Regions from separate parts of the Homo sapiens genome. Here all the other regions are linked to region 2. The links are contacts of gene promoters, found by promoter capture Hi-C in blood cells and fetal thymus (Javierre and others, 2016). All regions are on one chromosome and are shown on one strand. The core of a region is centred on a gene start or on the middle of the fragment in contact, and the rest is flanking DNA. Distances in the headings are between cores, read along the strand shown.

Evidence for each region. Contacts are between HindIII fragments. The CHiCAGO score rates a contact against its expected background, and 5 or more counts as called.
Region 1: a contact is called between a fragment that was not itself captured here and the fragment with the promoter of MED7 in region 2, in 1 of 17 cell types (fetal thymus). The highest score is 5.7, in fetal thymus.
Region 3: a contact is called between a fragment that was not itself captured here and the fragment with the promoter of MED7 in region 2, in 1 of 17 cell types (neutrophils). The highest score is 5.8, in neutrophils.
Region 4: a fragment that was not itself captured here is called in contact with the fragment with the promoter of MED7 in region 2 in 1 of 17 cell types (naive B cells); the score reaches 6.5 in naive B cells.

The regions. Positions count from the first base shown.
Region 1 is chr5:159,171,727-159,179,066 of GRCh38, reverse strand. RNF145 (ring finger protein 145) reads left to right here. Exons shown (of 11, transcript NM_001199383.2): 5 at 2,200-2,435; 6 at 4,909-5,084. Among named protein-coding and RNA genes, the nearest start is that of RNF145, 34 kb to the left of the region's middle. The HindIII fragment of the contact is 1,873 bases long and covers 1,462-3,334 here.
Region 2 is chr5:157,141,220-157,149,074 of GRCh38, reverse strand. MED7 (mediator complex subunit 7) reads left to right here and starts at 6,210. Exons shown (of 2, transcript NM_004270.5): 1 at 6,210-6,255. RefSeq lists enhancers at 5,583-5,682, 6,493-6,542. The HindIII fragment of the contact is 9,177 bases long and covers 3,562-7,855 here.
Region 3 is chr5:159,214,365-159,221,909 of GRCh38, reverse strand. No RefSeq gene overlaps it. Among named protein-coding and RNA genes, the nearest start is that of RNF145, 8.6 kb to the right of the region's middle. The HindIII fragment of the contact is 6,206 bases long and covers 381-6,586 here.
Region 4 is chr5:159,196,582-159,204,499 of GRCh38, reverse strand. It overlaps RNF145 (ring finger protein 145), which reads left to right. Exons shown (of 11, transcript NM_001199383.2): 2 at 844-1,066. The coding sequence starts at 883. Among named protein-coding and RNA genes, the nearest start is that of RNF145, 9.0 kb to the left of the region's middle. The HindIII fragment of the contact is 2,726 bases long and covers 4,617-7,342 here.

The DNA of each region.
Region 1 (7,340 bases), core at 1,149-3,648, 2.0 Mb before region 2:
CATAGCTATAAACACAGTGAAAGCCAGATCATTTGGTGGCCTCTTGTTTTCTATATAATTAGGAGTTTTTCTTTTCTTTATGCCTTTATGATTATTTTTCACATTACTTTAGTATCAGTTTTTTAAAGGCCAAAATTAATGCTTTGTGAGATAAAATACCGTATGTGTTTATGACATAGTAGATTGTTGTAAGTGTTTGGTCTTATGTAAAAATGGTTGACATTTTTGTATTTTTCTAACACAAATTGAATTTTCCTTATTCAAAATGCTTGGCACCAGAAGTGTTTTGGATTTCTGATTTTTTTACATTTTGGAATATCTGCATTATATTACTGTTTGGAAATCCTTAATCCCAAAATCTGAAATCCAAAATACTCCAATAAGCATTTTCTTGGAGCATAATGTTAGATTTTAGGGCATTTTGGATTTTAGATTTTTGGATTAGGAATATTCAACATGTATATGGATAGAATACAAACAAGTCCCAAATTTTCATTTTGGTTTTCATTGACAAGAAGTGAGAGAATATGATTAATTATTCTAAATTAATCTGGAAAATAACATTCAGTAATCTCCAAGAAATTCTGAAAGGAGCAATGAGAGAGGACTTGTCCAATCAGTATGATGGAGCAGGGTGGTACCATCATTAGAATAGATCACTGAAAACAAAAAGTAACAAGTTCTTATATAGACCTAAATATGTAAAAGATTTTGGAGTTTACTACAGTGGCATTTCAAATTAATGAGAAAGGAATGGATGATTCCAGTAGCCAGTTTTGAGATAACCAGCTAAACATGTACAAAAAACAAACTTCGATCTTTATTTTCTTATTCCACAATAAATCAAATGTATTAATTTTTAAGTTAAAATTAAAAATTAGCTAAAAATTACTAAAAGAAAATACAGCTATTTGTATAATCTTGAGTGGGGTAGCCATGTAATAAGCCATGGCACTAAAGGTGGGTACTATTAAGAAAAAAAATGGTTTGACTATTTTCAATACATACTTTTATAAGAGAATAAAGTTATTTAAAATATTAAGACAAGGGACATATTAGAAAAATGCAATCATGTGACTAAGGATTACTATTTCGATCAGGCAGTAGGATACGTATTCTAGCAGAAAAATGGGCAAAGAATGTGAACATTTCACCAAATAATTGCAAATGTTTTCATATACTTATTGATAATGTTCAGTGCTGTTAGTAACCAACAAAATGCCAATTTAAAAAATTTGGGAAATATTCCCTGTTCTTCCCATCTCTAAATTATACTCACTATGGCAAGTTAATAGAAAAATAGCCACATTATACACTGGTAAATTGTTGCTGGAGGGCAGTCTTGACAGTGTGTCAAAGTCTTTAAAAATGTTTTTTTCTGATTCAGTAATTCCTAGCCTAAGAGAATATTAGGAAATGTGTTCCAAGTAGTTTATACAAGGATGTCATAATGTAAAAGCTTATTCATACAAAGCATTTTATAATTATGGAATATTTGGAAAGGGCTAAATGCAAATATCATGTCACATACATTCAGTGTACCCCAGGGTGTTCTTAGGACTACCTTTGGGTTGTGGGATTATAAGAGACTGAGAGTTTCCCATTTTGTTCTTTGTATTTCTGTGTTTAATGTAATGATCATGCGTAATCCCCAGTGAGAAGAATTTATTTAGTTTTTAGTTTTAACTTATGATTTAGTTATTTGGGGCAGTTTACTTGGCCCTCCAAAAATAAAGATTAAAAAATTATCAGAACAAATATTGTTGCAGTATGATCTTGAACAAGTAATTATATCTCTTGGATTTTATGCTTTCACCTATAGACCAGAACAGTTAAATATTGCGTACCTTTGGAAAAGAAGTTATGTATAAACATTAGCAACTGAATTGTCACAATACTGAATTAGACATTGTTTAAAGTTTTCTTCATATTACACATGGCATCACAGACGACCAGTGGAGATTTATGCTGCTCTTTCCAGATCAGCCCTACAGAATTAGTATTCAAAATTCACAGAACATGTGAATATGTAATTATAGTCAGATGAAGTTTAAGTTTGATTTAAAATATTATCTACGAGATTTTAGTTAGACTTCTTCAAAAGTTGTGTTATTATCCTTATCAACAGTGTTTTTTGTTTGTTTTTATTTTGTGGATGCCAAATACTCAAAATTAAATGTATTCTATTCCCTATTTTAGGTCAGTTGGTGGTGTGTACTTTATGCTCCTGTGTCATGAAAACAAAGCAGATTTGGCTGTTTTCAGCTCACATGCTTCCTCTGCTAGCACGACTCTGCCTTGTTCCTTTGGAGACAATTGTTATCATCAATAAATTTGCTATGATTTTTACTGGATTGGAAGTTCTCTATTTTCTTGGGTCTAATCTTTTGGTACCTTATAACCTTGCTAAATCTGCATACAGAGAATTGGTTCAGGTAAGACTGCTGACAACCACAAACAGGTAGATAAAATTCTACATAAATGTTAAGTACATTAAAGTTATAGTTCATTTTTATTTCACAGTTATGGTACCATTCATTTTTGCAGTTTCAAAACAGCTGCTATTTTCAGCCCAATTAGGAGCATCTGAAAGATTCTTGATTATGTTCTATTGAGAAGGCAGTAAAGTGAAGTGGTTCTCTTAAAGCAGATTTATCTGAGATCGAACCCTGATGCTGCTGTTCACTAGCTGTGTAACCTTGTGATAATTGCGTTACTTTCTGTAAAACGGAGCTAATAATGAAAGCTGTGCTTTCCTCATAGAGTTCTGTGAGATTTAAATGAGTTTAGTACCAGGCAGACAATGTTCCATATGTGTTAGCTATTGTAATGAAGACAAAAATAATAAAGAATTGAATACCTATAAGTCAAATCCTGCTTTTTCCTTCTGATTATAGTCCTACTGTGACTATAGTTTCTTCCCTTTGTGTGCCTAATTTAAACAGAAAAGTTAAATAGTTCTGGGTTATAATATGATAGATTTCATTTAGATATAGTACTTGAATTGACTTTGCCAACATAACATGCTTTTTGTAAAAGTTTCTTCCCTACTTTTTTCAGCCTTTGCTCTAAGATAAATTACTCCCAGATACAAACAATACACATTTGGGAAATAAATGTTTCTGTTTGGTTTAATTGATAGTTTGTAATATATAAAATAGATTTTAACCTGACATTGGTATAAAAAGAGAGTGTTAAAATGTCACTGTCTTCCACCTCTTGACTGTGTCCTTAAGGTACAGGAAGCTCTCAGATAGAACAAACTGATAACAGCTAAGTGAAGTATTCTCTTGTGGCCCCAGGGGCAGATCTTTGAGAATACTTTCTCTAAGCTTTTGGCCTTAGCCTGATTCTATCTTCGTCTTACACAGTGATTAACTTGGGCAGTTTTCCCAGGAGTAGATCTTCCAGAAAAGGGATTATTTCTACAGTCAGTGAAGAGTGGCTTCATGGGGAAGCAGGGCAGGAAGGGTTATAGTTGTATTCAGGGTAATAATGACAAATTTAAGATACATATTTTTTCTTTGAATTCAGTCTTATGAGGGTTATCTTTGTTTGTAATAAATAATGAATATTCAGTAAATACTTATTGAATATTAAATATTTATTGAATAACCTCAGCCTTCATTTTTTAATGTCATGTTTAGTTGGTTGCCATAAGATTCATACATCAACTAGATGTAGTTGTTGGAAATATAGGTTATAAAATGCGTGACCAGGAAAGAATCAGATAAGCAAGAAATGGAAACAGACAGGTTTTTTTAGTGGTCTGTTTCTTGAATGGAAAGGAAGAAAAATATTCTCTGCCTCGTAATGATGAGTTTACCTGATAATAATTTTGCAGCTAGTTGGGCAGTTTCCTTTTTCTTTTAATCTTTTGTCACTGGGGAAAATAGAAGTTAATAGACTGGGTTGTAGAAAAAGCCTTTGCTTTACTGATGAAAGAATTTTAAATTTAGAATAATCTGCAAGTCAATTTATTTTAACTTAATACTTAAAGATGTTTATACCTTATTGAAACATTCTGGTATCACATTGAGAGATTCCAGCAAGACCAGCTGACTGCTAGATACTGGTTTTGTAAGCTGTCCAGCAGAATTCCTGCTGTGTCACCAGGGTCTGGTCCCTGACATAGTAACTCTAGAAACTTGGTTACACCTATGCTCTTAGATTGAATCAGATTCTGTGATTGATTTTTCCTAATCAGTTTCATAAGAAGAGTGTTTTATAAACTGGAAAACTAATTTAGTGAGTTGCAGATTATTAAGCCTTTTTTTTTTTTAAGATATATCCTTTTCCTAGTGTTACTTACACTTGGCAAACCAAATGGAAAAACATAGCTTGATAAAAACACAGTAGGAGGAAGGGGAATTGATGTGTATGGGAGAAAAAGACTTGCTAACTATCTTTGCTCTGCAAAATTTTTTTCCAGTGATTAAGTACTCTTCTTCCATTGAACTGTTTCTCATTTGTGACATTTCTGAATAAACCCTGAAAGTTTTTACTTTTGCATTTTTTTTCCTAGTGCCTCAAGCAGTGTTGTATCAATTCATGCTAGTCCTGATTATTTTGATTAGACATGAGTGTTTACCAAGTCTCCTCAAACTACCTTTTAAGGTTATTTTGTACTGAATATGACCTTATTTTGACCTTATCCCTGAACTATTAGGGCAGTTTACTGTGCTATTAGATAAGTGTGTGTCAAGTGTTAATAATAATGCAAAATTAGTAAGTTTTAAAAAACATGCTATTTATTAACTATATAGGCTAACTTTAAAGGAATTTAGCTGAAACAGTCTTGCAATCAAAGAAAAGCTATTTAATATTTTACTTCTGATTTGACTCAAGTGTTTAAAGTGTTTATTGATGGTGATGCAAGAAGTTTTCCTATCTTACGTTTTTATTTAGGTAGTGGAGGTATATGGCCTTCTCGCCTTGGGAATGTCCCTGTGGAATCAACTGGTAGTCCCTGTTCTTTTCATGGTTTTCTGGCTCGTCTTATTTGCTCTTCAGATTTACTCCTATTTCAGTACTCGAGATCAGCCTGCATCACGTGAGAGGCTTCTTTTCCTTTTTCTGACAAGGTAATTAATAAGAGCCTATGATACTATATATAACCTTAGAAAGAGAAAACTTTGATCTAGGAATAGTAAGTTTTGCAGATTACTTTTATCGTTCATGTTACACAACTTCGTATTTTGTTAAGATAGGATTTTCATTCACTGGATACCTAGGTTTGGCAATGCAGGGAGGTGCTAACATAATAATGTGGTTTATTTGGCTGCACTATGGACCAGAGTGTAGCAAATGATTTGTGGAAAGGTACATAGCAAATCGTAAAAGTATTTTTTCAATTTCAAGTTAAAATTATTGGGTCAATCAGAAAAAAGTATATTATAAAAATAACATTTATTGAGTATTTAAAATGTACCATACCATTAAACACTTTGCCTCACATTAATCTTTACAACGACCCTAAGAGATAGGTGCCTTTATTATAATTACCATTTTATAGCTGAAGAAACTGTACCAGGAATAACTTGCCCCAGGTAACACTGCCAAAAGAAGCAGAACTGGCACTCAGACCCACCTGAGTTCGAAGCCTGTGACTTACTCTCTATACTTTGCCTTTGTCCCTGTTGACTTCAGTATCGAGAAAGAGTCCGGTAATTGGTGAAATGGGTAGATAATAGTACTTTACTGTCTAACCCAGGGGTGTTCAATCTTTCGGCTTTCCTGGGCCACATTGGAAGAAGAATTGTCTTGGGCTATACATAAAATACACTAGCACTAACGATAGCTGATGAGCTTTAAAAAAAAACTTGCAAAAAAAAAATCTCATAGTGTTGTAAGAAAGTTTACAAATTTTTGTTGGGCTGCATTCAAAGCTGTCCTGGGCTGCAGGTTAGTCAAGCTTGGACTAACCCAAAATAATTCTAAGACTCGGTTTTTAATATTTAGGGGTTTTTGTTTTGTTTTGTCTTTTTAAATCTCATGTCATTTAAGTCATTTTCCCATTTTATTGTGAGCTTCTGCTAGATCCACATTTGTTATTTTTTCCACTCTTGAGTTTGAATCTCACATTCTCAGAATCTAGTACATGAATATACATCTTGGTTCCCTTGCTCATTGTCACTTTAAAAAGTAGGGATGAAAATCTGTCCTCCTATAAAGTAAATATAGGTAGATAACAGTTTTAAGTTCTAGTTAATAGTCATTGTTTCTCAGCCATCCAATATGATGGAAGACTGTGTACTAAGTGGTGTAGGCTATGAGAAATTTAAGACAAGTTTACTATCCTTAAGGAGCATGTTACTAGGAAAGCATTAACACAAATGTAAATATTAAAAATATACAGGACAAAAACCTGTTTTAAGAAATAAGTGGGATAAACTTATACTGGTACTGAATCAGATTTTGAACTTTCTAAAAATGAATAACAATTATAAGTAGCTTCTATAAACATGCAGTAAGTTGATGTCAAATTCAAATACATTTTAACGATTAATCTAGTATTAAGTAAATTTGACTGCTATTTGTTTTTGATATAAGTATTATGGAGGTTTTATGCAGACTTTTTTTTTTTTGAGACGGAATCTGGCTCCGTCGCCCAGCTGGAGTACAGTGGCACAATCTCGGCTCACTGCAACCTCCGCCTCCCAGGTTCCAGCAATTCTCCTGCCTCAGCCTCCCAAGTAGTTGGGATTACAGGCATGCGCCACCACACCTGGCTAATTTTTATATTATTAGTAGAGACCATGTTGGCCAGGCTCATCTTGAACTCCTGACCTCAGGTGATCCACCCACCTCAGCCTCTCAAAGTCCTGGGATTACAGGTGTGAACCACCACGCCCGGCCTGAAGACTTTTAAAATGACCCAAAAAGTAACTGCATATAGAGAGAAAGAGAGACAGTTCTGTGGTTAGGATAATAAACTCAGCGTGAGACTGAATTGGTGGTGCTTTAAACCAGATTGTTACCCGCTGCAAAGCACAGTAAGATGAGGTATAGCATAGTGCAGTAGGCTTAACAATTTACTAAGCCATGAATGCATTTGGACTTATTTACAAAGTAAGAAAATAATATTCGGATATTCTGTGAAGTTTAGATATCTTGCTAACATAATTTTTTTCTTTTCTTTTTCTATGCCTCGCCAGGATAGATTGCCTTTTTTCATGATAAGAATGTTGTAATTTGCTTTGAGAAGTTCTCATATTGGTTCTTTTGTTAATTTATATCTCTGTAAGAGTTATTCTCTGTTCTTATCCATGCTTTTGTGTGCCTGGTAATGTTTATGTTTCTTTGCCAAAAAAACAACTTATTTAGAAAAAGAGATTGGG
Region 2 (7,855 bases), core at 4,961-7,460:
CAAATGCCAAGGTTGCTGCTCCCCCTGCTGGTAAGAAAAAATGCTGTAGGCAAAGCAAACCACAAGCACTCTCCCCACCCATGTGCTGCACACAGATCTGGATTGTTGACGTTTTAGTGATAAGGTCATTAGCAGCCATGAAGTAACAACAACAAAAAAATAGTGATTAGGAATTGAAACTATACTGCAGACTGCAGAAAAAAAATACATTAGCAATGACTCTCATCCAAAGTGCATCATTAAGGCCGGGGACGGTGGCTCATGCCTGTAATCCCAACACTTCGGGAGGTCAAGGTGGGTATAAGGCAGGAGACCACTACTACTCCTGCTGCCTTCCTCCCCTCACCTTGCCTAGTTCACAAGACAGGAGGAAAGAGAGAAAAAGCAAAAAGTTGGAAAAAAACAAAAGTAAGATAAATAGCCAGACAACCTTGGCAACACCACCCAGCCCTAGGAGTTAAAAAAAGTAACAATAACATCAACCCCTGACCTAAACTACTTGTGTTATCTGTAAATTCCAGACACTGCATGAAAAAAGCATTGTAAAACTTTTTGTTCTGTTAGCTGATGCATGTAGCCCCCAGTCACGTTTCCCACGCTTGCTTGATGTATTACGACTCTTTCACATGGACCCCTTAAAGTTGTAAGTCTTTAAAAAGGCCGAGAATTTCTTTTTCGGGGAGCTTGGCTCCTAAGACACAAGTCTGCCGACGCTCCTGGCTGAATAAATAACCTCTTCCTTCTTTAATCCGGTGTCTGAGGAGTTTTGTCTGCGGCTCTTCCTGCTACAGGTGGATCACCTGAAGTGAGGAGTTCAAGACCAGCCTGGACAACATGGTGAAACCCCGTTTCTATAAAAGTAAAAAAATTAGCTGGGCGTGATGGTGTGCATCTATAGTCCCAGCTACTCAGGAGGCTGAGGCAGGAGAATCACTTGAACCTGAGAGGCAGAGGCTGCAGTGAGCCGAGATCACACCATTGCACTGCAGCCTGGGTGACACAGTAAGAGCTTGTCTCCAGAAAGAAAAAAAAAAAAAGTGCATCGTTAAAACCATATACAGTATATGAGCTTATAAAAATCAGGAAGAAACAGGGACTGGAGATGAAATTTTTCTTTTCTTTTCTTTTCTTTTTTTTTTTTTTTTGAGACGGAGTTTCACTCTTGTTGCCCAGGCTGGAGGACAATTGTGCGATCTTGGCTCACTGCAAACTTTGCCTCCCGGGTTCAAGTGATTCTCCTGCCTCAGTCTCCTGAGTAGCTGGGATTACAGGCGTGTGCCACCATGCCTGGCTAATTTTGTATTTTTAGTAGAGGTTTCTCCATGTTGGTCAGGCTGGTGTCGAATTCCTGACCTCAGGTGATGTGCCTGCCTCGGCCTCCCAAAGTGTTGGGATTACAGGCGTGAGCCACCATGCCCAGCCTTTTTTTTTCCGTTTTTTTTTTTGGCAGAGTTTCACTCTGTTGCTCAGGTTGGAGTACAGTGGCGCTATATCAGCTCAAGCAATCCTCCTACCTCAGCCTCCCAAGTAACTGGGACCCCAGGTGCATGCCACCATGCCCAGCTTGGAGATAAAAATTTTTACTTGCTATCTTCCAATGATTCTGCCGGGCTGATCAGCAAGCCAAAGATACAATGTAACTGACTAACAGACGCTCAGGGATTACTATCTATAAACCTGCCTACCAATGACAGAGGTAGTAAGGCCAACAAAATCAACAAGTTGCTGTAACAATTCGACTTCTATAAGCATAAATAAACAAATAAAAGGAGTTTTGACCCTTACTGGGCATCAAATACAAAAATTAACCCCAAAAGGATCATAGACCTAAACGTAAAACTTAAAATTAGAAAACTTGTAGAAGAAAACAGAGGAAAAATCTTTGACTTTGAGTTAGGCAAAGATTCTTGGAAAGGACACAAAAAGTATGAGCCATAAAATAAAATAATTGATAAACTTGTCATCATCAAAATAAAAAAACTCTGCTTGCTGAAAGACACTTAAAAAATGAAATGATTAACCACAGACTAGGAGAAAATATTTGTAAAAGACATATCTTATCAAGGACTTATATCTTGTGTGTATTTGTGTGTGTGCACCCTTACAATTCAATAGTAAGAAAACATGCCAATTTAAAAAATGGGCAAAAATTTTGAACAGACAGTTCGCCAAAGAAAAGATATACATGGCCAGTAAACACATGAAAGATACCCAATACTAAGGAAATGCAAATTAAAATCATTATACAGATATTAGAATAGCAAAAAGTAAAAATTAAAAGGATAACACCAATTTGCAGATTGAGGGCAACTATACCTCCGATAGATTGCTGAGAAATGAAAAATAAGCAGCCTCTTTAGAAAACTGCTTGGTAGTTTCTCATATAGTTAAACATATAATTATTATAATGTCCAGCAATTTTGTCACTATGTTGTTATCCAAAAGAAATGAAAACATATGTCCATACAATTGACTTGCATGGGAATGTTTATAGTATCTTTGTTAAGAATCACCTCAAACTGAAATAACCCAAATGTCTATTAACCAGTGAATGGATACATGAATTACAGTATATTCATACAATGGAATATTCCTTATCTGTAAAAAGGAACAAAGTATTATACATTGAACAACATTGATGGACTTCAAAAGTATTATGCTAAGTGAAAGGAACCAGACACCAAAAACTACATACTTTCTAATTTCATTTATATGACATTCTGCAAAAGGTAAAACTATATGAACAGGGATCAGATCAGTGGTTACTAGAGGATGGGGATAAAGGGAAGGAATTGAAATAAAAAAAAGTTGTTTGGGGTGATGAAATATTCTACATCTTAATCCGGGTGGTAGTGGTTTTATGTCAGTATGTATTTATCAAAACTCTTATAACTATTCACCTAGAGTTAATTTTATTCTATGTAAAGTATCCCTCAATAAATCTACATTTTAAAAAATCAATAGGGTGGAAACTAAAAATTTCTGCTTGTAATTTAGGTTCAAATGACAGCGATGTTTTTTATAATGTGCCAAGATCCTAAGGGAGGCAAGAAGTCGGTTACCGTGTGTCTTTGCCCATTTCATCTCCCCTGCTCTTTCTTTCTTTGCTCACTAGCTATGGAGCACACAGGCTGCCTTCCTCTCTCTAATTCAGAAAGATCATGGCAGCCCCACGCTCTTTGCATTTGCTGTCTCCCAGATCTCTGCAGAATTCACTCCTTCATATTTTGTTTCCAAAGTTAACCTTCTGTGAGAGGCTACCCTGACCACCCTGTGTAAAGTAGCTATTCCCCAACCCACGTCACTATCACATTAATCTGTATTATACTTTCCCCCATAGCCCTTACCACTATTCGAAGTTTTTACTTGTTTGTATACTTCTTGTCTGTGTCTCTCTAGAACACCTTCTAGAAAGAACACTTTTTTCAAAGGCCCCACTGGCTTTTGTCTGTCTTTTTAGCCTTCTAGACCAGTGCCGGCACAACAGACACACAATATACAGATTTATTCAACGAGCATATTCCTTGTTAAGCTGTAGTAGGCATCTTTAAGTAATAAGCTTTCCATTGAGATTTTGCCAATATAGTCATATAATTAAATGTTTAACACACATCATATTGTCACTAGCCCTTCTCATGATATGGACTTCATATCCATTATTCATTTGAAGTTTATTGGAAAGAACACTAGATTGATAGTCAAGAGTCCAAGATTCTAGCCTTGATTCTGCTACTAACTGTTAAGACACTGCCCCTTTGGGCCCAGTAATTCTATTTCTAGAAATTTATTTCAAAGAACAAAATTGGACACATGCACAAACATATATGTACTGGGATCTCATCATCCTGTGTAGTTACACTGGATCAAATTTGGAGAAAAATAATTTAACACAATGAGGATCTGGCTAAAGAGACTGTGGTATAACCACCAAAGCCACGCTATGAATTTATTTGAAAGTGATGATTGTATTCATTTTGTTTCTTATTCAATAAACACTTATTGAGTATTTGCCAATTTCAGGCACCGTTGTATGTAGGTTCAAACACAACAGCAGTAAATGAAACAAAGGTCCCATGCTCATAAACCTGATATTTTTGATGGATAAGAAAGGCAATAAAATACATAAATATACTATGTAAGATGATTTCAGATGATGAGAGGTTCTATGAAAAAAAGATAATACATAGTAAGGGTTTCAGGGGCATCTCCCAAGAGAAAGATTAGGGATGCGCTATTTTGCATAGAGTAGTGTAACCCCAGAAGAACTCTTTGAAGTCACATTTGACCAGAAACCTGAATGAATTGAGGAAATGAAGCCGGGCGCGGTGGCTCACGCCTATAATCCCAGCACTTTGGGAGGCCGAGGCGGGCGGATCACGAGGTCAGGAGATTCAGACCATCCTGGCTAACACGGTGAAACCCCGTCTCTACTAAAAATACAAAAAAATTAGCTGGGCGTGATGGCGTGTGCCTCTAGTCCCAGCTGCTGGGGAGGCTGAGGCAGGAGAATGGCGTGAACCTGGGAGGTGGAGCTTGCAGTGAGCCGAGATTGGGCCACTGCACTCCAGCCTGGGTGACAGAGCAAGACTTCGTCTCAAAAAAAAAAAAAAAAAAAAAAAAAAAAAAAAGGAAAGAAGGAAATGAGACGTGTCAATATCTGTGCAAAGAGTTCCAGGCAAATGCATTGGCCCCAAGGCCGGGATGTACTTGGCAATTTTGTAGGGCCTGTGATATAGGCCAGGGGAAGGATGTCAGATTTTATTCTAAAAGTCATAGAAAGCCTTGGAGGATTTTGAATAGAGGAGTGATAAGACCGGTCTTATATTTTAAGAAGGTGTGGTAAATAGACTAAGGGAGGACAAAAAATCAAAGAAGTCCAGGTGAGAGATAATGGTGGCATGGCATAGGACCATAGCAGTGGGAACGGTGGTCAGTCATATTTGGAACTTTATTTACTTATTTTTAAATAGATCTAATGCAAAAGGCTGGTATGGTAGTTTCGGTGGGGTATGTGAGAAAGGAGAAAAAGGTGATTCCTTCGATTGAACATTTGCAATTGAGTAAAGTGCAACTGGGGAAAGATGTCTGTCACCACTGGATATGAGGGTCTGAAGTGCAGAGGAAACGGTGTTCCAGGGCCTGCATGTAATCATCCAGCTGATATCTGACTGAGAAGTGGTTGGAGAACTGAGTCCTGGGGCAATCCATTAATCAAATGTGCCAAATGCTGCTGACAGATGGAGTAAAATGAGGACTGGGAACGACCATTGGAAGTCACTGGTGCAGGATACATTGGGGTCAGCGGTGAGGAGAAAAGCTGGATTGGGTTATGCTCAACGTAGATGGATTTCTTCAGGAAATAAATTGATACGTGCGAGGGATTTAAAATGGGGGAGTCCGGAAGTGGTGGTTCACGCCTACAATCCCAGCACTTTGGGTGGCCGAGGCGGGCGGATCACTTCATATCAAGAGCTCGAGATGAGCCTCGCCAACACGGTGAAACCCTGTCTCTACCAAAAATACAAAAAAAAGAAAAAAAAATAGGTGAAACCCCAACTATTCGGGAGGCTGAGGCACGAGAATCGCTTGAATCCCGGAGACTGAAGTTGCAGCGAGCCGAAATCGCGCCACTGCAGTCCAGCCTGGGCGAAAGAGAAAGACTCCGTCTCAAAGAAAAAAACAACAAAAAAACCCTGCATGTCTATATTTTCGAATTTGTATGTAAGACGTCTTAATTGTATGCGTTAAATTAAAAAAGGACAAAAGGAATGGAACTACCAGCAGCGACTAAGTCAGTAAAAGAGTGGTAATGGGGAAGGGGGTGGAATATACGCAGGCGCAATAGCAAGCGTTTCTTTTGGAGGTTATTTTCGTGTCATAAATTTCTAAATTCACGTTAAGTCTTACAAGAGCATGTTAAACATTAAAACATAAGATTGTTTCTGGTCAATAAGGGGTCTATAAAAAATAAAGCAATAAGGTGTCTTGTTCAATTTTATGCCTTAATTCAAAAAGAAACGAAGAAACGGAACCCTCAGCTACGACTTTTAAAAGTCAGTAACGGGTGGATGGGAGGAGTCAAACATACGTAGGCGCAACAGCGAGGGATCGGTCTGAGGCGGAGCTAGAATTTCGTTAAAGGACAGCTCTTACAGCCAATCAAGGACAGAGTCGGTGGCTTCTTCCCGGAGGAGACCGGAAGTTGGTTTCGGCTGCAGAGGGGAAGGCGGCTACCAGTGTAAAGCCAGAGCTGAGGTAAGTGGGCGGCAACGGTTTGGGGCCGCCGCCTGTGTGCGTTTTTTTCTTCCGGACCCCGCAGCTTCCTCTGTGCTGGGCTGGGAACTGGGGAGGCATGGCTGAGTTCGGCCTCCAAAGGCGGTCTTTCGTCTTTCTCTCCCGAGTCTCTCCGAGAGTGCGGTCTCTCCGAGAGCGCGGAGGCCTCGGGGTGGACAGCCTGGAGGAGGGGGCTCTAAGCGTGGCAGTCTCGGGGCTTCCTCCGTGTTGGGACGCCGAGCCGGAGTGGAGGTTGGGAGACCTGGCGTCTAGTCCCCGCGCCGCTGTTTTTCTAAGCTGTGTGGCCTTGGGCGAGTCATTTGCCCTCTCCGGCTCTTTGTAACATGAGAGTAGCCCTCCCTGCCCTTCCTTCTTCTGGGAGCAGTTATGAAACAGCTGAGGTATGGGGGCAGGCGAGGGCGGTAGATCCCAAGCCTAATCGTCAGGTCCATCTGGAGAGGTTTTAAAAGCGACATTCTAGGGCCCATTCACAGTAGACAGAATGAATCAAATCTCTGGGGCTGGGACCCTGGAATGTCTGTCGTCTTCTGGTGAAGCTCCTTCTCCCCCAGTAGAACAAACACTAGATGTTGGATCTTGAGTTAAGAACCAGCTCTGATGCTTGGCTCTGCTTTTATTAAAAATAAGACCTCCATCACCTTTGAAAAGTTCCATCTAGAGAGACAGTAGAGAAAGAAATATAATTTTTGTGATATGCCAGTCCTTATTGTACAGTTAGATGCTTCTCGGCTTAGGGATATAAGAGAGCTTGCCCTTTGGAGCTAAAGGGACCTGGGATAAGAATTCCTGTTGTGCCATTTATTAACCTTTTGATCTGGGGCAACACTTCCCCTCATTGAGACTTCGGATCCTCACTTCTAAAATGAAATTGATAATAGAACTTAATTCGTGGGACCGTGTGGTGGCTCACGCCTGTAATCCCAGCACTTTGGGAGGCCGAGGTGGGCGGATCACTTGAGGTCAGGAGTTCCAGACCAGCCTGGCCAACATGGTGAAAACCTGTCTTTACCGAGAAATACAAAAATTAGCTGGGCGTGGTGGTGCGCACCTGTAGTCCCCAGCTACTCAGGAGGCTCAGGCAGGAGAATCCCTTGAACCCGGGAGGCAGAGGTTGCAGTGAGCCCTGATGGTACCACTGCACTCCAGCCTGGGAGACAGATTGAGCCCTTGTCTCAAAAAACAAAACTAACAACAAAAACCCCAAAAACCTTAATTCATAGAATTGTTAATGAAGATTATGTTACAGAGGCCATAAAAAATGGTACCTGTCATGTAGTTGGCCTTAGGAAAATGGCAGCCGCAATACAGGAATGCACATCGTGTAGGAAAGTACAGAGCAGCACTCCTCACCTAAAAAGGTTTGAGTGGGATGAAACGTGAGCTGTCAAAAATTGTATTTTCTGCCGGGCACGGTGGCTCACGCCTGTAATCCCAGAACTTTGGGAGGTCGAGGCAGGTGGAACACGAGGTCAGGAGATCGAGACCATCCTGGCTAACACGATGAAATCTCGTCTCTACTGAAAATAGAAAACATTAGCCGGGCGTCGTGGCGGGCGCCTGT
Region 3 (7,545 bases), core at 2,234-4,733, 2.1 Mb before region 2:
ACAAGGGATTTGATGGATCACTTTGATTTTCTCAGCTACTCACTCAGCTGAAAATAGTGGAAGAGAGAGGATGGGTGGTGTGGAAGGTTTGAGAAGACAGCAGAGCATGCCCCTCTGGGAGTGGGAAACAAATGTACCAGGACAATGCAGTGGGATTGTGGAGTGGGCCTGAAGGCTCAGATTTGAGATTTGTGATTGGTTGTGTGATTTATCCAGCAATATCAGCCACTCAGGTGCAGGTACAGAGCAGACAGAGAGCCAAGAATCCTTGTAAGTGGCACATTTAAATGACACACCATAGAACTTATGGTGGGTGAAGAGAGATGGCAGGACATAAGGAGAAGATGTAAAGAGCTGGTAGGGTCAGTGGATTGGAAGCTTGATGCTGAGAACACTTGAGTAAAGACACTATGAAGAAAGCACCAGAACCTTAATAGGAGTGGTCAGCAGGAAAGTTTATTGAAAATAAGGTTTTTGCAGCCAGGTGCAGTGCCTCACACCTGTAATCCCACCAGTTTGAGAGGCCTAGTAGGCAGGTGGATCACCTGAGGTCAGGAGTTTGAGACCAGCCTGGCCAACATGGTGAAACCCCATCTCTACTAAAAATATAGAAATTAGCTGAGCACGGTGGCGGGTACCTGTAATCCTAGCTACTCAGGAGGCTGAGACAGGAGAATTGTTTGAGCCTGGGAGGTGGAGGTTGCAGTAAGCCGAGATTGTGCCTGAACTCCAGCCTAGGTGACAAAGCGAGACTGTCTTGAAAAAAAAAAGGAAACAAATAAAATAAGTTTTTTGGAAGTTGATGACAAATTAGCTGAAGACATACTATAGACAATCTCCTAAGTGGAAGAGAGAAGGAGCGAGGGATTCAAAAAGAAAGAAACTGTGGCTCATGCCAGAAAGAGTTTATAATCAATTAAGGGATAAAATATGTATCATGCAGCTTTATAACATGGCAGCATACGTAGGTCCATCTATCTAACTGGGTCATAACAGGCTTGAAGGCAGAAATTATGGTCTGGTTCATTTACATCACACTTAGCACCTGCAGGAATTGTGTGTTCTAATTCACTTATATGGCACCTAGCATCTAACAGATGCTATGAATATGTGCTCAGTAAATACTGACTGATAGTATCTTTAGTATCTTTGAATAGTGAAGGTATAAGCATGATAAGCCAAAAATAATAATAATAACAATTATGATAGTGCTTATCCTGGCTTGGGCTGCTATAACAACATATCTTAGATAAGGTAATTTATAAACAATATAAATATATTGCTCACAGTTCTAGATGTTGGCAAGTCTAAGATCAAGGCAGCAACGGTTGTCTGGTGACAGCCTGTTCCTGGTGATAGTGCTTTCTACGTGTCCTCACATGGCAGAAGGGGCGAACAAGCTCCCTCAAGCCTCTAATTCCATTTATGAGAACAGAGCCCTCATGACCTAATCACCTCCCAGAAACCCCATCTCTTAATACTATTGCAGTGAATAATAGATTTTAACATATGAATTTTGGGGGAACATAAACGTTCAGACCATAGCAATGCTGCTTTCCTTGTGCAAGACATTGTTCTAAGTACTTTATATGTATAATGACACATCTGACCACAAAATCCTGTGAGGTAGGTGTTATTAAATAGGAAATTAGGCAAAGAAAAGTTGAGTACCTCGGCCAAGGTCACACAGCTGGTAAGAGGCAGAGCCAGGCTTTGAACCCAGTTAGAGTAACTCTAGTCTGCACTCTCCTAGCCGCCACCTCCATTTCCCATTTAGAAAGAGTAATTAATTAGCCACACTCTACTCAGAAGTCTATGACCCAAAGCAAACGTTCTTATTTTGTGAAACAATGTGGAGACATTGTATTAGTCTGTTCTCATGCTGCTAGTAAAGACATACCTGAGACTGGGTAATTTATAAAGAAAAACAGGTTTAATGGACTCACAGTTCCACATGGCTGGGGGAGCCTCACAATCATGGCGGAAGGTGAAGAAGGAGCAAAGGCGTGTCCTACATCGCAGCAGGCAAGAGTGGGTGTACAGGGGAACTGCCCTTTATAAAACCATCAGATCTCGTGAGACTTATTCACTATCACGAGAACAGCATGGGAAAAACCTGCCCCCATGATTCAATTACCTCCCAGGTGGGAATTATGGGAGCCACAATTCAAGATGAGATTTGGATGGGGACACAGCCAAACCATATCAGACATCAAAGAAAACTCACAGGGGCCTGGCGCGGTGGCCCACGCCTGTAATCCCAACACTTTGGGAGGCCGAGGTGGGTGGATCACCTGAGGTCAGGAGTTCAAGACCAGCCTGGCCAACATGGTGAAACCCCATCTCTACTAAAAATACAAAAATTAGCTGGGAGTGGTGGCGCATGACTGTAGTTCCAGCTACTCAGGAGGCTGAGGCAGAATCGCTTGAACCCAGGAGGCAGAGGTTGCAGTGAGCCGAGATCATGGCACTCCACTCCAGCATGGGCAACAAAGTGAGCCTTTGTCTCAAAAAACAAAAACAAAAACAAAAACAAAGATAACTCACAGGGAAGATTCCTGAAGTGTTATTGTCTTTTGTTTATATAGTCATTTCAGGTAAAATAATCGTTCATTCATTACTAAGGAGACACCAGTGGGGCTTGAGTTCTACACTCTGTGAACAAACTCATCATCTATCCTGGCATTATCAGTGGGACAGGAAGCAGGTGCAGCATAATGGGGGATATACACATAGAACCCTGACAAGTCTGGGTTGTATCTGAGTTCTGCTGCTGCTAGCTGCGTGACTCTGGACAAGTTACTTGACCTCTCTATGCCTCAGTTCTCTCATTTTTAGAATGGCAATAATTATACTATCTACTTCATAGGTTTTTCATGATAATTAAATGTGATAATTCATGTAAACTACCTAGTACAGGACCTAAAACATAGTAAATGCCCTAAATGTTACTCTTCTAAGTCAACTCCTCAGCATTTAACTGATTTCTGTGTTAAAGTCCAAACTCCTTCGCATGGCATGAAAAGTCCCTCCTTAACTCCTGGACTGGCCCCAGCTTACCTCATCTTTCCCCCCATTCCCTCTGTAAATCTGAGATCCAATCATAATTGTTTTGCATATCCTTTCTTATATGAACTTTACACTCTGGAAGTAACTCGGAAGATTTGTGATGCAATCAAAATGCAATCTGATTTTATCACTCACTATCCCTTTAAGTATTCAGAAGGAGTAATTTTTTTCTGCCTTCCAGTGGAAACTTGGACAGATATCAAGAATTCTTAATTAGTGGGCACTCCTACTCACTTTAAGTAAAAAATCAGTCTGGCTTTGGTAATTAGAAATGTGTCAAGATATTAATTAAATGCCTCAATCTCCATCCAAAAAGTGAGAGTTCTCTGCACTTGTGAGGGCCTGTGGTCACCTTATGCTCTCTCTCCCCCACTTAAATCCTTCCCAGGCACCAGCAGCTGCATCAGACCCCACCTGGGCAGAAGCCAGCTAAGGCAGTGCAGGTTGCTGGTGGTCTTCAGGTTGTCTGCATCTGGCAGGTGCCTAAACTTGATTCTTTCACTTCTGGGTGCACGTCTTTTTTTTTTTTTTTTTAATATATAGCAGTTTATTAAAAAGAATATATGGATACGCAGCGGTAAGTGACATAATTGATAAAAGAGGACCCACAATATCACTGATTCTCCTATTACTCCATGAAACTACTCCATGCAGTGATTTACAAGGGACCCTGGTTTGCAGGGTGCACAAGTTGCTTCACATTATAGAATATATAACACATAGGAGTTGTAATTTCATATAATCTGAACAATTGGCACCACTGTTACTGGTATCTTAACTGGTAGAAGCTAGCTGGCTTTTTATAACTGATCAACTATTGTGAGAAGCTGTTGACTCTCCATGGGTTGTTTGAAGATTTTTTTTTCTTTTTTTGAGACTGGGTCTGGCTTTTTTGTGCAGGCTGGAATGCAGTGGCGTGATCTCGGCTCACTGCAACCTCCGCCTCCTGGGCTGAAGCCATCGTCCCACCTCAGACTCCTGAATAGTTGGGAGGGACTACAGGTGCATGCCACCATGTCTGGCTAATATTTTTATTTTTTTTTAGTAGAGATGGGTTTTCGCCATGTTGGTCAGGCTGGTCTCAAACTCCTGACCTCAGGTGATCCACCCACCTTGGCCTCCCAAAGTACTGGGATTACAGGCGTGAGCCACCATGCCCGGCCACGCCCAGCTAATTTTTGTATTTTCAGTAGACACAGGGTTTCACCATGGTGGTCAGGCTGGTCTTGAACTCCTGACCTCAGGTGATCCACCCACCTTGGCCTCCCAAAGTGCTGGGATTATAGGTGTGAGTCAGCACCCGTTCAGCTGACTCCTATGCATTTTTCAACACTCAGAATATCTCTCCCCATCCCCTCAAGAACCCACAAATGGGCTAATCCCACCCACTTCACACTATTTGCATTTTCATGGTAACATTTTCTCACCTCTATCACAACTAACCCACACCACTTTGTATATCTGTGATAACCAACCCACATCATTTATGTGTCTGCCCCCACTCTAAGACATTGGAAGGTCTTGGGGTCAGAGACTCTTGAGATTTACTGTTACATCCTCAAAGCCTAACATACAATAAAATGCAAATTTCCGGCCTGTGGGGTGGCTCACACCTGTAATCCCAGCACTTTGGGAGGCTGAGATGGGGGGATTACTTGAGGTCAGGAGTTTGAGACCAGCCTGGATAACATGGTGAAACCCCATCTCTACTAAAAATACAAAAATTAGCTGGACATGGCAGTGGGCAACTATAATCCCAGCTACTTGGGAGGCTGAGGCAGGAGAATCGCTTGAACCTGGGAGGCAGAGGTTATGGTGAGCCAAGACTGTGCCACTGAGCTCCAGCCTGGATGAAAGAGGGAGACTCCTCTTCAAAAAAAAAAAAAAAAAAAAGTAAATTACCATTAGCAATCGCATAAAAAAATACCAGGCATGGAGGAATTAATGTAACAAGAGATATGTAAAATATCTACGTGGAAACTAAAAACCTCAGCACGATCTTGGGAAACTCAACAAGCTGATTCCAAAATTGATAAGGAAATGCAAAGAACCAAGATCCTCCCGAAAACAAAACAAAACAAAGAAAACCAAGTGGGAAGATGTGCTTTACCACATATCAGCTTCTTAGAGTCACTGGAGCAGTCTGGTGTCAGCACAAGGATAAACAAAGAAACCAGTGGGATAGAATAGAAAGTTCAGAAACAGATCTATTCAGATATGCACACTCAATTTATGACAGAGATGGTGCTGTGGAGCACAGAAAAAACAGGTTTAAAACAAGCATTACAAATAAAAAATATTAAATTTAAACTAAAAATTTACCTTCCTCAAAAGACATCATTTTGAGACTAAAAAGGGAAGCTACATAACAGAACATTTTGCTTGACACATAATTGACAAAGGACTTGCATTCATAATATGCAAAGAATTACAAAAGAAAACAATAAGCAAAGGACAACGTAAGGGAAAACTGGGGAAAAGACTTGAGCAATTCATCAAAAAGGAAATCTAAAAAGGCCCCCAAAATACGAAAAAGTACTCAACCTTATTGGCAATTAGGGAAATGCAAGTTAAAAACCCCACTAGAATGGTTAAAATTAAAAGTCTGACAATACCAATCATAGGCTGGGAGACAGGGCAACAGGACCCAGATTGCTATTAGGCAAGTAAGGTGCTGCAATCACCTTGAAAAACAGTTTGGAGTTACCTAAGAAAGTTGAAGATACGTAGCCCTGTGGCCCAGCAATTCAAGGGAAATATGTACAGGTGGTGACCAGGAAGGCAAGTGCAAAAATGTTGACAGCAGCATGATTCACCATACCTATGGCTCCAAAATGAAACTTTAATGTTCATAAATTCAATGTTCATAAGTACTAGGATGATTAAATCATATTCTATTCATAGGACAATTCTATACTGCAATGAAAATGAAATAACTGTAGCCTCACGAGAACGTAATTGAATCTCACAATGTTAAGGAGAAAAAGCTAGTCACAAAAGAATATCTAGGCTGGGCATGGTGGCTCATGCCTGTAATCCCAGCACTTTGGGAGGCTGAGGTGGATGGGTCATTTGAGGCCAGGGGTCCAAGGCCACCAAAATGGTGAAACCCTGTCTCTACTAAAAATACAAAAACTAGCTGGGCATGGTGGTGCATGCCTGTAATCCCAGCTACTCAGGAAGCTGAGGCAGAAGAATCGTGTGAACCCAGTAGGCAGAGGTTGCAGTGAGCCGAGATTGTGCCACTGCACTCAAGCCTGGGTGACAGAGAGAGGCTCTATCTCAAAAAAGAAAAAAAAAAGGAAAAAAAAATCTAATACTTGATTATTTTATGCAATTTATATAGCATTCAAGAACAGGCAGAACTAGACTACAGTTTTCAGGAATTCATAGTTAGGTGGTCAAAGAAAGAAAAGAAAGTGACTACATTAAAGTCAGGAAAATGATTACCTTTGGGGCTAGTGAGACAGCTGTGAATGAAAGGGCATGTGAGGGTCTTCTGGGATGTGGACAAGCTTATATTTCTGGATAGTGGTTAAATGGTTGTATTTCATAATAGTATGTGGAGCTGTACAATTGTGTTTTTATGTACTTAACATTATTATTATTAGTTACCTCCTTATGTTCATAGCAGCATATTATACTCAGGGATGGGTGACAAGCAAATTATAAGGATTGAATGCCTTGGGACTCTTAACTGTAAATAATCAAAAACACAACCCAAACTGGCTTAAGCCAAAAAAGGTAATCTATTGGGTAATATAAATTAAAGAGTGAGGAGGTCAGCATGCTGGCTTCAGATAAGGCTTAGAGCTCTTACACTGTGACCAGGTCCTGGTTTCTTTTTTGTCTCAGGTTCTCTTTCTTCTGTTGGCTAAATCTTCAGTTGGTTCTTTCCTTTTGTATCCCAGATAGCTGCCAGTAAATTCCTGGGATTACAGGTTTCCTTTTTTAGGTCTAGCAGAAAAGAGAAACTTTGCTCTTCCCATAGCTCAGTCAAAACCTCTGATGTTTAGTCCTACCTCTGATTGGCCCAATGTGGCTCACGGGTCCTTCCCTGGACTAAGCACTAAGGGAGAAAGGATAAACTGGTGGAGCCCATTCCTGGTCAATGGCCAACAGACCACCTGTTTATTCAAGGTTCAAGTTGGTATTAGAAAGAAGAAGAGGAGAAGAATAGCGAGGAGGTAGCTAACAAATGTCTATGACAATCAATGTCCATTTTATTTAGTTGAATATCATCACACATAAACAACAACACACAGTTTTGCACTACTCCCTACCTCAGGCTTAATCAGAACCAAGGCAAAGAAAGTAGCTGGATAGAACAGAGGTGCCAGTTGAGCTAAAATCTGAAAACAACAGCAAAAATATAATTTGTTTCTGCTGATGTTAGTGATTCTAAACAGTCACAGGTGCTCAGATTGATGAAAAGCAAAGCTGGCTTGTCAGATTGGATCTTCTTTAGAGATATTT
Region 4 (7,918 bases), core at 4,730-7,229, 2.1 Mb before region 2:
TTGGATTAATTTGAAGTTCTACCATATAAAGCAGTATGGCATTGAATTGTCCCTTTAAATAGTAAATTGTCCTGATAACTGCCTTTCATTTCCTCCTCCCCCTGCCCCCCCCCACTACTTATCATGGTCTGTGCAGAGACAGGGGCTGCAGACTCAATGCCTGGCGTCTTCCATGTGCCTGCTTATCTGTGTATCAAGGGAAGAATTTGATGAACACTTGAAGGCAGATTATGGGAATTTTAGACCATATTTAACTTTAAAGATTCAAGGAAATGATATTGTAAATAATGTTCCCTCTACCTGTATCTACATCATGAGTTCTCTGGATTGTAAATTTAGCACTTCAATTTTGATTGTAAGTGAATAAGGAAAAGCATAGAGTACAAGATGCTGCAAACTAAACGTGCAGTTATCAAGTTTTTATTGAATTGCTTAGGCTTTTTCATAGAGTAAATATTCAAAATTCACCCTCTTATGAGCTACATAAATCATAGTTTTATTGGAGTGAGTGAATTTTTCAAGTTAATTTTATACAAGTTACAGTAGTCTTACAGAGTGTTTTGTTCCTAGATTTGGAGTTAGTGGCCTTTTAAAAAATTAGTTTTGAGGCCAGAACATTTAATCAGAATTATAAGATTGGACAGAACTGAATGGGTCAATGTGAAAACACAATACAGAGGTTATTTTATGAATATCTAAAAATAGTAGTTGTGGCTGAGAAGTAGTATACGTTCTCACATAGTTTTGTACAGTGTGTGACAACCTATTAGATTCGTGAAAGGGTATCTAAAAGCGATTTGTGTTGACTTTTTATTTTTATATATTGTGTCTTCTGAATTTTAGGTCTTCTCCAAGAAAAAAAAAAAGAAAAAAAAAAACAACATGGCTGCAAAGGAGAAACTGGAGGCAGTGTTAAATGTGGCCCTGAGGGTGCCAAGCATCATGCTGTTGGATGTCCTGTACAGATGGGATGTCAGCTCCTTTTTCCAGCAGATCCAAAGAAGTAGCCTTAGTAATAACCCTCTTTTCCAGTATAAGTATTTGGCTCTTAATATGCATTATGTAGGTGAGTGTCTACATCACATTTTCTAATCTTCTAGTGAGCATTCTGATTTATGTCTTAGTATCTTTTTGAATTTGGGTAAAATGAAGTTCATTTTCATTAAGATGATAGTGATATAGTTATTGATGAGTGTTTATGAATCTTGATAGTTTTGTCTTATCATTGCACATGAATTATTAAGGCTACAAGAAAGTAAGCAGTATTGGATTTATTTTACTGGATAAAACTGGAAGGCAGAAGAAAACATTCTAGATTTTAATATGATGAAATATAAACAATGAGAAATACTTTTAGAGACATTTGGCCCCTTCTAATTTGTCCTTGTTTTGGGGTTTGGTAGTAATTCAGAAAGTAAGCTTTTTAAAATGCAACATTCTTTATTGTTCCCTGAGATAAACGAAAACATTAACATCAGCTGAAGATAAAGTGTTCAGTTAAATGAAATTTGGGAAATGATACTATAATACTTTGTTCCATAAAAAAAATCCTCCTGGAACTATAATTTTTTTTTTTTTTGCTTGAATCCCCTTTCAAGAAAAATGGAACTATCATTGATATGCTATGGGGTTAGTGGTAAAAATAATGATAAGAGATTGAAGAAATTAAAGTCAAGAAATACAAGCATGAAACAGATAAAATTTACCTAGAATAAAAATCATGATCCTTACTTTTTAGGTTTTGGTTTATTTGTAATGTATATAGCAATATATTTTATTAATGTTGTGATTGCAGAGTTCCAGACATGGTTTGAATGGTACTATAGTGGTTTTGCTAATATTTTATTATTAGAGTTGCCTGTCACAAAATATATCTTTTATAAAGTCATGAAGAGTTGTCCTGTCTCTCTGAGATTTATTTTTATCACTTTCTGGGTTCTAAAACTTAGCCCTGAGAACGTTCCCCTTACATCCCTAAGAGGTAAGCTGTTGTGGAAAGAAGTATGATGTAGTAGAAGAGATGGTGCACTAGAAACAAAACGTTTCGGTTCAGTAAACTCATCTTTTGTGGATAGCACTACCTTGGGAATGTCTCTGAAATGGGAAAGTTCCTTTATGTTGCAAAACACTGTAATTCTCAGCCTTTTATGAAAGGCTTTGTATGTTAGCCAATTTATGGAAAGTAATTCCCGTCAGTTGTAGAACAACTGGGTACTTGGCTTAGATTTTTAGATTAATCAGCAAAGTCATACATACTGTGGTTTTAAAAATGTGCTTATATATTGTTTCTGAATAGGTTGAAATATTTATTATAAAAACAGCTGCCTGATAACCAGGAATATTAATTTTAGAAATTGAATGTTTTCGAGTACAATTGAAGTTCATAATCTGGTTTATAATTTTATAAAGTTAGTTGAGCCATCTTAAATATGCTTACTCCATGCCAAAGTAGAGTAAGCTCAGTGGTTGCATGAACAGATATTTTCAGCTTGAACAATGTTTTGGTTGGAGTTACCTTTGTCAAAATATTACATAGTGTTTATGTAATGCTCCTGTTTACAGAATTTCACCCTCAAATACAAATCAAATTTCACCTTAATAAAATAATGTATCTACATTCAGAAATAAAAAAGCATAAAAAGTATTTAATGAAAAGTATCTCCCTCCCATCTCTGTTACTCATTCGCTGAGTTCTCACTCTGAACACCATGTAGCTTTTATTTCTTTCTGTATAATTCTAGAGATATTTTTATGTATATATAAGTAAATATAAAAAATGTATATTTCCCCCCTTTTTATACAGATGTTAGCATGGTATACATGGTTTTGAATCATGGTTTTTGTTTGTGATGTATGTGGAGCCATAACTACTGCTTTTAGATATTTATGAAATAGAGTTTTGTGCTCTTTTTCTTATGATGACAGTCTGCCGGATCTTAAAGACTCTCTTGAGTAGATATCGAGGCCTCATTTCTCCTCTTCCCGATTGCATTTTACGTTGGCATAGTATCTTCGTATGGATATACCATAATTTATTGAACTAATTACTCCATTGGTGGACATTTTAGATAGCCTACCTTCTGCTATTTTGTACAGCGTTGTGCTAAATAACTTTGTATAGCTATAATTTCAACAAGTACAAATATAACCTGGGGCTAAGTTACTAGAAGCGAAGTTGCTGGGTTAAAGAGTACAGTGGTCCGTCGGTGTATGCTGGAAGTTGGTTCCAGGATGCCCACGTATACCAAAATCTGCGCATACTCAGGTCCCTCAAGTGACCCTGTGGAACTATGTATGCAGAAGGTTGGCCCTCTGTATACGTGGGTTTTGCATGTTGCAAATACTGTATTCCATAAGAGTTTGGTTGTAAAAAATCTACATGTAAGTGGACCCTCACAGTTCCATCCTATGTTGTTCAAGGGTTAACTTATATATATTTGTAGTGTTGACAGATAGTACTTTCCATAGGGTTTTACTATTTTGTACCTCCAAAAACCGTGGTTGAGAGTTCCTACAATCCTATATTATCAAAACAGCCTGTTACCACAAATATTTTGGCTACTCCAATAGGTGGAAAAATTGATTTTTTTAACTCAATGTAGTTTTAGTTTGCATTTCTATTATGAATGAATTGAACATACACATACTTAAGAAAAACCTGTATTTTCTCTTCTGAGAGTTGTCAGTTTATATACCCTGCCCACTTTTCTGTGAGATTCTTTTTTTACCAATTTGTGGGAATTTGGTATACATTAGGGAAATTAATCCTTTGTGATAAGTTGAAAATAGTTTTTCCAGTTTCAACTCAGTGATTTTGCTTATGATTTTTTGACATTTAGAAGGTTTTTAAGCTTTAGTATTTTGAGTCAATTAGAAAAGCCTTCTTTATTCTTGAGTTTATAAAGAATTCTGTTGTATTTTATCTTACTATTTTTGTGGGTTTATTTTTACATTTAAATCTTTGCTTCATTTATCTGTATGAATAGTGTGTTATAGGTATAATTTTATTTTTTCTAGATAACCACACAGTCATCCTCACCTATTTAGTCCATTTTTTTCTCATTATATACTGAATTCTCACATATATTTTGTTTCATTTTTGAACTTCTCTTCCTTTAGTCTGTCTGCCTGTTTGTGAACTATTAACACGCTGTCTTATTTGTTGAGGGTTTAGATTATATTTTACTGTCTAACAGGGTTAGTCCCTTCAGTTTTCTTTATTTCCTCCTCTGAGCTTTTTTTTTATGGTTAGTTTTCTATGTGAATTTAAGAATTGTCTCAAAATTGTCTAGGTCTCATTCCAAAAACAAAGCAACCCATTTGATTTTTTTTAAAATTTAGATTGCATTATTACTAATTTTGGGGGCAGGTGGGGAGGATGGGTTCTTGCTGTGTTGCCCAGGCTGGCCTGGAACTCCTGGGCTCAAGTGATCCTCCTGCCGCAGCCTCCTGACATTTATTGTTTCTAGGTATTTTATCTTTTTTATTGCTATCGTAAGTGGGAGTTTTTCCCCCTTTATGTCTTCTAATTGTAATTAAGGAGCTTAAAAATTAAGGGAGGGAGCAATAAAGTTTGTATTTAATGGAATGTAATTGTGTCTTCAAACTTAGAAGCTTTCCAGGGTGGGTTCTGCTGAAAGAGAAGTGACTGCCCACTGTTTTTTGGAGTGTAGGATATGAAAGGAGGAGTAGAAGTAATATTGGTAAGGTAGAATAGGGCTTTTGTGAAGAATCCTGAATACATACAGTAGATATGGTGCTTAATTCTATAGGTCGTGGTGGGTCAGTGGGGATTTTAGAGCAGGTGAGCTGCATTTTAAGATTGATTAGGCAGCGTTTTATAGGATGATGGATTGGGGAGGGGAGAAACTGGAGGTAAGAAGACCAGTTAGGATTTTAGGCAAGAGGTAATGAGAGCCAGAACTGGCAAGGTAGAAATTAGAAAGGAAGAAATGGATGCGAAAATCCTTTTGAAACTACCATCACTAAAATCATTAGTGACTTAAAATGTAAAATTCAACCCTCATTTATGTCCTAATTCTACAGACTTTTCTATGTTTATGGAGCTGTTTACCACTTCCTCTTTCTTGAAAGTGTTTTTTTTTTTTTTCCTGATTTTTCTCCTAACTCCCTGACCATTGCTTCTGATTCTTTTGATTTGTTTTCTTTAGACTTCTCAAGTGTTGATATTGCCCACAATTTGTGTTTAATTTTAATCTTTTGTTGTTTGGGTGACCGAACGTAGTTTGGGCTGCAGATCTCTGTCTCCACTTTACATTGCTTTTTGACCACTGTAGTCTGGAGTTGATGTTCTTCCTCTGTGATTCCATGGAACCAGTTCACATCTCTACCATAGCAATTATTATGTTGCATTCTAAGGGTCCATATGCTTATCTATTTTCCCAACTGTTAATAGATTGTGAGCTCCTTTAAGGTAAGAAGGGGGTTGTTTATTATCTCAGTATTCCCAGCACCTAGCTGGTGCCCAATAATGAATGAATTTTATATATATGTATGTATGTACGTGACAGGGTCTCACTCTTGCGCAGGTTGGAGTGCAGTGGTGTGATCATGGCTCACTGCAGTCTCAGACTCCTGGGCTCAAGTAACCCTTAGCTGCTGGAGTAGCTGGTACTACAGGCATATACCAAGGTCTTGTTTTGTTACCCAGACTGGTCTCAAACTCCTGGCCTAAAGTGATCCTCCTGCCTCAGCCTCCAAGAGTGCTAGGATTACAGATATTAGCCACTGTGCCCAGCCCTGAATGAATGCATTTTGAATTACTTCTTAGACATTTCCACCTAAATAGCCTATGGACATTTCAATTTGTTGTCAATCACTGAACTCATCACCTTTTTCTCACCTCAGAAGTCTTTCTCCTGCTGTGTTTCCTGTCTTAATAGCAAAGCTGTCTTCTTGATTACCCAAGCTAGAAACATCAGATCTTCACTTCCTTGTTCTCAACTAGTCACCCACAGATAACCACTAAGACCTATTTAAATATGTATCTCATGGCTGACTGGCAGCTCCATACCCAAAGCTACTGTTACAATCCAGGCTCTCATCTTACCTCTGGTCCTGCTGTTTACCCTACAACTACCATAATGTTTAAATAGCAGAAATTATTAGATTCATCAGTGTTGTTTTAAGCAGGTCATCATTTTGATTTATTTTTTATTTTTTCTGTTCTCAGAGTCTGTTCCCGTAGGTCATTATTTCTTTTATTTATTTATTTATTTATTTATTTATTTATTTATTTAGAGATAGAGTCTCACTGTCGCCCAGATTGGAGTGCAGTGGTACAATCTTAGCTCACTGCAGCATCAACCTTCTGGGCTCGTGTGATCCTCCCACCTCAGCCTCCTCAGTAGGTGGGACCACAGTTGTGTGCCACCACACCTGGCTAATTTTTTGTATTTTTTTGTAGAGACAGGAATTTGCCGTGTTACCCAGGCTGGTCTCGAACTCCTAAGCTCAAGTGATCTTCTGCTTTGGCCTCCCAAAGTGCTGGGATTACAGATGTGAGCCAACACATCCAACCCTTATTTTTTATAGAGACAGGGTCATGCTCTGTCACCCAGACTGGCAATCATAACCTCACTGTAACCTTGAATTCTTGGGCTCAAGGGATCCTCCCACCCCAGCCTCCCGAGTAGCTGGGATTATAGGTGTGCACTACTACACCTGGCCTAGGTCATCATTTTTAAATGCCACTGGTCTTGCTTTTTAATTACAAATTACTGTGTATAATTTAAAAACTAACAGCTTTGCCATTGTCAACTTAGTTTGTTATGGATTGTTTGGTTAATGCTGTAGAGTGAGTTGTGATGCATGTTTGTGTCAATAGTATTTTTGGCTTGCATTTTTTAAATTGTTAGATTATATATACATCGTAGTTCAGATGGTTCATTCATACTGCTCTCATAGTTAGTATTCATTGTCTCTCAAAGTTTTCTTACACAAATATTTTGTTATCACAGAGTTACTTTTCCACTGGAATATAAAAATGGGGTATAGATGAGCAATGGTGCTTTTGTTGTTTTGGTTTCTGTTCTCTTACCTCACCTAAATAGATATTGAAGAATTTGAGAACCATTAGCTAAGTCTAAATTCTTGATTATTGTATTTAGGCTTTATATTGAGGCTTTAGCTGCTAGTTCTTTCAGCATCATCTCCCAATCTTTCTGTTAACATCAAAGTCTAGTCTAACGTACAGAATTTACTGTCCCCTGAAAATTACACTTTTATGGTTTTCATGCTTGCTGTTCTCTTTTCCTAGAATGTTTCCTTTTCTTCTTAGCCTGGTAAAGAACCATTCACCTTTAGAGATCCAAGTCAAGCTTAATCACTTAACCATAGCCCTTCCAATGTTCATTTATTATAGCATCAATTTTGTCTAATAATTACTTTTGTCCATGCTTATCTTTTCACTAGATTATTATTCACATTAATTTTGGATCTTCCATGTCTAGGAATGCAAGTGGGTCATACTTTACACATAATAATGTTGATTGAATGACTGGATAATTGAAGGAATGGATGAAATGAATATGTTTGATCTAGAAGATTTGGCCGCTGATTTTATATGCGATATATAGGAGAAAGAAAAGACAAGACCGTTCTGGAAAGGAAAATGACAGTTTCGTTAAAAGAGAGTTTAAGGAGAAGTTTCATGTAATAGACATTAGAAAATCCTTCAGCTACAATCAGTGGAAATGCTTAGTAACTATATTACATATCCTTTAAAATACCTCTAAAGTCATTTGAGGTAGGGGTTAACAAAATTGGGGAAATTATTTTAAGAAATAAAGAGCAAATAAAAATACTTATCTCTGGCTTTTGATGGACTGTCCTTGCAGTTAGGATGTGTAGGAAATCCTCAGTTCTGTTTCTTTAGTCCCAAGCATGCTCATGTTTT